Regions from separate parts of the Homo sapiens genome. Here region 2 is linked to region 1. The links are contacts of gene promoters, found by promoter capture Hi-C in human tissues and cell types (Jung and others, 2019). All regions are on one chromosome and are shown on one strand. The core of a region is centred on a gene start or on the middle of the fragment in contact, and the rest is flanking DNA. Distances in the headings are between cores, read along the strand shown.

Region 1 (3,861 bases), core at 1,006-3,505:
TCTGAGAGGCCAGGAAGGAGCAGCTGGACTCCTCCCTCCTCAGAGGTGCCCACCTTGCCCCTGCCCTGGGGAAGGTGCTCCACTCTCTCACTCTGGCTCATATGCAGGCAGCCTTGCCTCTTCTTGGTAGAGACAGTAAGACCAGTGCAGGGCTCCACTGCAGCCTCCCAGAAAATGCCTGGAACCAAGGACCTGAGAACTCTACCCCTTTATGGAAGACATCAAAGGGGAGACATGTCAGTGGCTCTTAGAGAAGAAGGAGATGATCCTGGAGGCTTCTGTGCTCCCAAGTGTCCTCACCATTTGGCTGTGACTCCCTCCAGAAACTAGATATCTAGTTCTAGATATGTGCTATGCTATCATATAATAATATCATACGATAGAACAATATAATAATATTCTATCATTACTTGGAATATACACAGTCCCAATAAGAGGGTCCTAAACAGGCTGGGCGCAGTGGCTCACACCTGTAATCACAGCACTTTGGGAGGCTGAGGTGAGCAGATCACTTGCGGTCAGAAGTTCAAGACCAGCCTGGCAAATACGGTAAAACCCCATCTCTATGGAGAATACACAAATTAGCCGGGTGTGTTGGCGGGCATCTGTAATCCCAGCTACTCAGAGACTGAGGCAGGAGAATCACTTGAACCTGGCAGGCAGAGGTTGCAGTGAGCCAAGATCGTGCAACTGCACTCCAGCCTGGGCAACTGAACAAGGCTTCATCTCAAAAAAATAAATAATTTTTTTTAAAGTGTCATAAACAGTTGAGCACAGCATTCTGTTGAATGCACACTGTCCCATTTTCTAACCCATTTCTTCACTTAAAAATAACATTGTTTATGCCCAAGTAAATTGATTTTCCATGCTACTAGCACATCCTAATCTGTGTCCTAGAAAACACTGCTGTACCCCACAGCAGCAAGGAACAGAGGCCAAGGGAGCAGACAGGGAGATGGTGCTGGAAGCAGGGTCTGCTCTGTCGAGGGAGAAGGTGGGTGCTGAGCACTCTGGTATTTATTGAAGTCATTTCTCTGCAGCCTCTTCCTGTGTCTCCTGCCTCCAGAGAGAAGCCCCTATCCGTGCTCCCCAGGAACACAGATGCAGGATCTTCCACACACACAAATCTAACCACATCCATGCCCTGCTAGGAGCCAGCCATGGTGCCTAGAGGGTGACAGGTCACCTTGCCTGGCCCGGAGGAGAACGGCTTGTCCATGCCATGTGTGGCCTGTGAGCTTGAGCGGAGGAATTCCTGCAGAAGCTGGGCAGGGGTAGGGGGGCACAGAACTGACCCAAAACAGCTCCTTCCCCTCTGTCCTCACATCCTGACCCCAAGATGGCTCTTCTCAGGGAAAATCACAACCCAACCCTCTGAAAAAGCACATTAAGGAAAAACACCTTTGAGAATCTCAGGGGGGGATGTGGAATTTCTCCACCAGAACTTCACAGTGATAATGACACCAAACACAAGAACGACAATAACCAAAATCAGGAGTTTTATTCTCCTACCTTCTCTCTCTCTCTCTCTCCTCTCACTGTCATGAACGTCACGAAGACACTGACTTTGCGTTTTCTACTCAGCACTGCATCACTGGTGTCTGACACGAAGCCTGGGACATGTAGGCTCCCAAGTGGACCTGTCCTGGGTAAATGACCATTAATGAGACAGAGAAGGAGATGAAGAGCCCCCAGAGGAGTGTTGAGTCCCAGGGGTCCCGCCAGCTCCACTCCCACCTTCCAAACCTGTGAAAGTCAGGTGCCTGAGTCACACAGTCTCTCCCACCTGAATGCCATGAGCTGCAGGTGACTGAGAAGTTACTGGATTCTTGACCATGTGTTTCGGTTGTGAGGTTGGGACCTAATGGGACCCTTTGAAATGATGTCATGGGTTAGCAATGTCCCAAGGAAACTGAGGAAAGTCATAGCTCAGTAGGATCCTGTGGAATCGCTGTGTGGACATGTGAGTGTCGGAGAGTGTTAATGCCAGGAGCATCCTGAACCTTCCTATTTTCCAGAGGACTCAGTGTGGGGGACGATTGGGGCACATAGCACAGAGAAGGTGGAGGGTGTACCGCTTCTCTCCTGATTACAAAGGTGAGATCAAAGCTACAATGACACGTACCCTGCCTGGCACCTCTCCTGCCCAAGGACCCAGCCTGTCTCTGCAGGACTTGCAGGAGGGCAGGAAATGCCATGACATCACCAGCTCCACTAGAAATATGGGATAAAAGGAGTGGCTGAGATCTGCTGATCCCCTCCTCACTCCACTGCAACCACCCAGAGCCATGGCTCCCCGAGGCTGCATCGTAGGTAAGGAGGACAGGACCCCATTCCCACCTGAGCCCATCTCCAATCTCAGCCACCACCAGGGCTCTCTCCCTACCCCAAACTACACCTCATCCCTGTTCCCATGCCCAGCCAAATCTCCAGGCGTGAATTGCTCACAGCAATTCCCCATCCATAGTGCCCAGATCAGCCCCATCCACAGCCCTGTTTCAGTCCCTGAGCTGCTCAAAGCCATACCGAGCCCTGGTTCCACCCAGTCTTCTTCTAAATGTCAGTGCCAGTCATATCTGTGGCTGTCCACTCACCCCATCTTCCCTTTCCCTTTCCCACAGCTGTCTTTGCCATTTTCTGCATCTCCAGGCTCCTCTGCTCACACGGAGCCCCAGGTGAGCCCAGGAGTGTTTGGGAAGCTGGAGGAGGGGTACACCTTCCAGGGGACCCCAGGCTGGGACCCACCTGCCACTACCTCCTGGATCTCACCAGCTCTGTCTCCTCCAGTGGCCCCCATGACTCCTTACCTGATGCTGTGCCAGCCACACAAGAGATGTGGGGACAAGTTCTACGACCCCCTGCAGCACTGTTGCTATGATGATGCCGTCGTGCCCTTGGCCAGGACCCAGACGTGTGGAAACTGCACCTTCAGAGTCTGCTTTGAGCAGTGCTGCCCCTGGACCTTCATGGTGAAGCTGATAAACCAGAACTGCGACTCAGCCCGGACCTCGGATGACAGGCTTTGTCGCAGGTGAGTCCTGTCCCCTCCGTGGGATTGTGGGTGCAGGGTAGCTGCATGCCTGTTCTGCCCTGGGTGGAGCCCCCATTCTCCTTGTCTCCCTGTCTCTGCCCCCTGCTTCTATTCAATCCACCTCTCCCTTTCCCTACACCTGTGTCTCCATCCATTTTTATTTCCCTCTCAGAATCTCACTCTCTCTACCCCGCTGTCCTCTCCTCCTGGCTCTCCTGTCCTCATTTCTGCCCATGTTCAGTCTCGCCCCCATCTCTGGCCATCTCTGTCCCGCTCAGTGTCTCTCTCTGTCACTATCTCCAGTGTCAGCTAATGGAACATCAGGGGAACGATGACTCCTGGATTCTCCTTCCTGGGTGGGCCTGGAGAAAGAGGCTGGTGTTACCTGAGATCTGGGATGCTGAGTGGCTGTTTGGGGGCCAGAGAAACACACACTCAACTGCCCACTTCATTCTGTGACCTGTCTGAGGCCCACCCTGCAGCTGCCCTGAGGAGGCCCACAGGTCCCCTTCTAGAATTCTGGACAGCATGAGATGCGTGTGCTGATGGGGGCCCAGGGACTCTGAACCCTCCTGATGACCCCTATGGCCAACATCAACCCGGCACCACCCCAAGGCTGGCTGGGGAACCCTTCACCCTTCTGTGAGATTTTCCATCATCTCAAGTTCTCTTCTATCCAGGAGCAAAGCACAGGATCATAATAAATTTATGTACTTTATAAATGAATGCTGTAGAATTCATGAATTAGAGAGCTTGGACTGTTGAAAGGGGTCACAGAGGGTGACGTGGGGCCCCTTCTCTCTGTCACCCTGAGGCATCTGGGCCTTTCC
Region 2 (3,861 bases), core at 967-3,466, 58 kb before region 1:
AACCACCCTGGCCAACAAGGAGAAACCCTGTCTCTACTAAAAATACAAAAATCAACCAGGTGTGGTGGTGGGTGCCTGTAATCCCAGCTACTCAGAAGGCTGAGGCAGGAGAATTGCTTGAACCCGGGAGTCAGAGGTTACAGTGAGCTGAGATCATGCCATTGCACTGCAGTCTAGGCAACAGAGTGAGACTCTGTCTCAAAAAAAAAAAAAAAAAAAAATGGAGATAACACCCTAGAATTGCCAGAATTTAATCTTTTCAAGTATTTGTATGATTTGCTTTCAAATAAATGGTACCTAGTGAGATCTTTGCTAATGTCCTGCAAGAAACATTCCAAATTGATCTCAGATTTTCTGCCCAAGTAGTAGAAATTGAATGACTAGCTCAGTTTCTGAACATTCTGGGTGGCTAGAAGGGGGATGCAAGGGCTCCATGGCACCATATGGGAGATATGAAAAATAAAATAGGGATAGCTAAATGACATGTCCAGGGTAGCTTACTAAGTGGGTGCACCGAGAGAGAGTAAGAATCGGGCTCTCAAGCTTGAGACTCACTGTGTTGGTGTCACTCACTGTTGTGTATCAGTGATTGTTGTGGGAAGTCAGGGAACCCGAATGGAGGGACCTGCTGAAGCCGTAACAGAAGAACATAAATTGTGAAGATTTCATGGACATTTATCACTTCCCCAATCAATACTCTTATAATTTCCTATGCCTATCTTTAATCTCTTAATCCCATCATCTTCATAAGCTGAGGATGTATGCTGCCTCAGGACCCTGTGATGATTGCATTAACTGCACAAATTGTTCGTAAAGCATGTGTGTTTGAACAGTTTGAAATCTGGGCACCTTAAGAACAGGATAACAGTGATTTTCAGGGAACAAGGGAGATAACCTTAAAGTCTGGCTGCCTGTGGGCTGGGCAGGACAGAGCCATATTTCTCTTATTACGGAAAACAGGTAAGAGAAATATTGCTGAATTCTTTTCCCAGTAAGGAATATTAATAATTAACAGCCCTGGGAAAATAATGCCTTCCCAGGGGGGCCTCTAAAATGGCCACTCTGGGGGTGTCTGCCTTATGCAGTTGCAGATAAGGGATGAAACATGCTCTGGCCTCCTGCAGCACCCCCAGGCTTGCTAGGATTAGGAAATTCCAGCCTGGCGAATTCTAGTCAGACCAGTTCTCTGCTCTTGAACCCTGTTAAGATGTTTATCAATGACAATGTGTGCACGGCGGGACATGAAACTTCATTAGTGATTTTAGTTTCACCCTGACCTTGTGATCTCGCCCTGACCTTCTGCCCTTGTGATCTTTTGTCGCCCTTGAAGCATGTGATCTCTGTGACCCACACCCTATTCGTACACTCCTTCCCCTTTGAAAATTGCTAATAAAACCCTATTTGTACACTCCCTCCCCTTTGAAAATTGCTAATAAAAACTTGCTGGTTTTATGGCTCAGGGGGCATCATGGAACCTGCCGACCTGTGATGTCTTCCCCAGACACCAAGCTTTACCATTTCTTTCTTTTGTACTCTTTCGCTTTATTTCTCAGACTGGCCGACACTTAGGGAAAACAGAAAAGAACCTACGTTGAATTATCGGGGGCTGCTTCCCCCGATAAGTGATAGCCTGAATGAGTCACTTTCTGGGTCAAGAGCCAGGAGCTAAGTCAAGGGGAGTCAGCCAGAGGGAGGTGCTATTCAAGACGAGATTATGGGTGGGGTTCAGATTGACAGAGAGAAGAAGCTATTGGGCAAGAGTGGTGACTTGCTCACTCAGATGAGTTCGAAGATAATCTCTACTGATAAAACAATCAAACTTAGACCATACCATTCATGGAATGACATGGAGATGCACATTTCAGAGTATTGTGTCTTATTTTTCTCTATCTCCATTTTCTGTCAGGGCAAATTAACTCTGAGTACAATTTACAACTGCCTTCTCTTCCTTGGACTCAGCATAGCTCTCAGCAGTCTCCTGTCTTATAGGGACAGCCTGCTGTTTCTCATATTCCATAGGTCTAGTCTATTGTTGACTTACCCAACCTCTCAAGGAGAAAATGCGAGTACACTTACTTTATCTTTTGATAACTCCCTTCTTGAACTCCCCATCAGTATGAAGCTCACCCTGTTGAATGGCCTAGATGGAGGATATTACAAGGAACCAAAAGGACATTCAGGAAAAGTGAGAATTTTTTTTACCAAGTGATAAGTTTTATAAGAATGAAAAGTGGGTGCCGTACAGGTAAAATTGGTGCAAATAATATATTGTTACACCAAAAGGAATTTGAAGCTCTGAAGAACTTTCACCAGGAATCTGAATTGCAAAAAAAAAATTATGTGTGATGAAGATTAATGATAGAAACATCCCTAATTCAAAAGGTCTTATTTTTGCTTTGGATTAAGCATGCAAAAATCTGGAGTAGTCCTTGGCAGGAAGTGTTCTTGCTGTTGACTCCAGAGATACGGACTTTGGAAGTGGAAGCCATTAACCTGGATGTAACTGAATGGTTATATAGTCTAAGGTAGAAGAAATCGTGTAAAGCCTGATAGTAAAAAGTGGCAAATTGTCCTGATTATCAAGGGGGGAATTGGGTAGTTACTACACAATCGGCAGAAGAGAGTATAACTATACCACTCACACAAGGCATTCTGTGGGATGCCTCTTAGAACTCCCACGTCCCATTGTAAAACATGGGAAAATGATAATAATCCATTACAGGAAGGACTCCTGAGGGAATGTATACTTCATGAAGACGTGAGTAACTTCACCAGGTTAAAAAATCACAGCCAGTTGAGGTGTTTGCTGAGAGCATAGGGATTATGGAATGGATAGTGGAAGAAATTTTTTTTCAGGTGGAGTTCTGTTACGTTCCCCAGGCTGGTCTTGAACTCCGGAACTCAAATGAGCCTCCCACCTCAGCCACCTGAGTAGCTGGGATTACAGGCATGTGCCACTGTGTCTAACTTGAAAGAGGAAATTTTTAAATGCCAGCTTTAGCCTCAAGGCCAGCTGCTGAAACAAGGACTAAGTTAGATATTTATATAATCTTCCTCACTTTGATGTGTATATATATATATTTTTTTTCAGACAAGGTCTCGCTCTGTCATGTAGACTGGAGTGCAGTGGTGCGATCTTGGCTCACTGTAACCTTCACTTTCCAGGTTCATGCAATCCTACCACCTCAGCCCTCTGAGTAGCTCTACAGACATGTGCCACCATGCCCAGCTGATGTGAATATAGTTTCTGTATTAACTGAGTCCTCTGCTTTTTGTCTCAGTGCCTTCATACCCCTCTATGTAATATAGGTTTATATTGGTTGATCCTTGGTATTTATAGCATGAAAGAGCAAAAGGGGTTGTTAGTCATCTGGGAGACGGACTAGCATTTTCAAATATCTCTTCCATAGAGAAGATTAAAGGTCTTTGGGTTGTAAAATGAATAGTTGCATCACATTAGGTGGAAAATAGTATTGTTGCTGCTTTTATTTGGAAGTTGAAAATGTCTACAGATGCTTATTTTTGAATGGGGTGGACTGTGCTAGACTTTCTGTTGTCAACGTGTCCCCAACACCACTGTTCCTTCTGAAGTGGGAACCACGTTTTCCAGAATCACTTCCCCTATATGGAGCCCAGAAGGTGAATTGTATGATGTGGAAAATTCAGGAATAACAAGCACTATCGTATCCTCATGTGATTCACGTTCTGACCCATTATAAAGCAGACTACCTCTGTTGGTCCATTTCCATTGCTATAAATGAATACCTGAGGCTTGGCAATTTATAAGGAAAAGAGATTTAATTGGCTCACGGTTTTATAAGCTGTACAGGAAGCATGGTGCCAGCATCTGATTCTGGTGAG

What was found. The method cuts DNA at HindIII sites, captures the fragments that hold promoters and counts their contacts. A contact is called where the count stands out against the background at its distance.
Region 2: a contact is called between a fragment that was not itself captured here and the fragment with the promoter of IGFL1 in region 1, in 10 of the 25 tissues and cell types used here (H1 embryonic stem cells, IMR-90 fibroblasts, aorta and 7 more).

Annotation. Positions count from the first base shown.
Region 1 is chr19:46,227,487-46,231,347 of GRCh38, forward strand. IGFL1 (IGF like family member 1) reads left to right here and starts at 2,256. Exons shown (of 4, transcript NM_198541.2): 1 at 2,256-2,313; 2 at 2,622-2,675; 3 at 2,788-3,031; 4 at 3,335-3,757. The coding sequence starts at 2,289. The coding sequence ends at 3,344. RefSeq lists an enhancer at 1,604-2,803. The HindIII fragment of the contact is 10,872 bases long and covers 1-3,861 here.
Region 2 is chr19:46,169,648-46,173,508 of GRCh38, forward strand. The region is part of intron 4 of LOC105372424 (a long non-coding RNA gene); the gene reads right to left. It also overlaps a transcript of IGFL2 not described here. Among named protein-coding and RNA genes, the nearest start is that of IGFL2, 23 kb to the left of the region's middle. RefSeq lists an enhancer at 985-1,535. The HindIII fragment of the contact is 4,773 bases long and covers 1-3,861 here.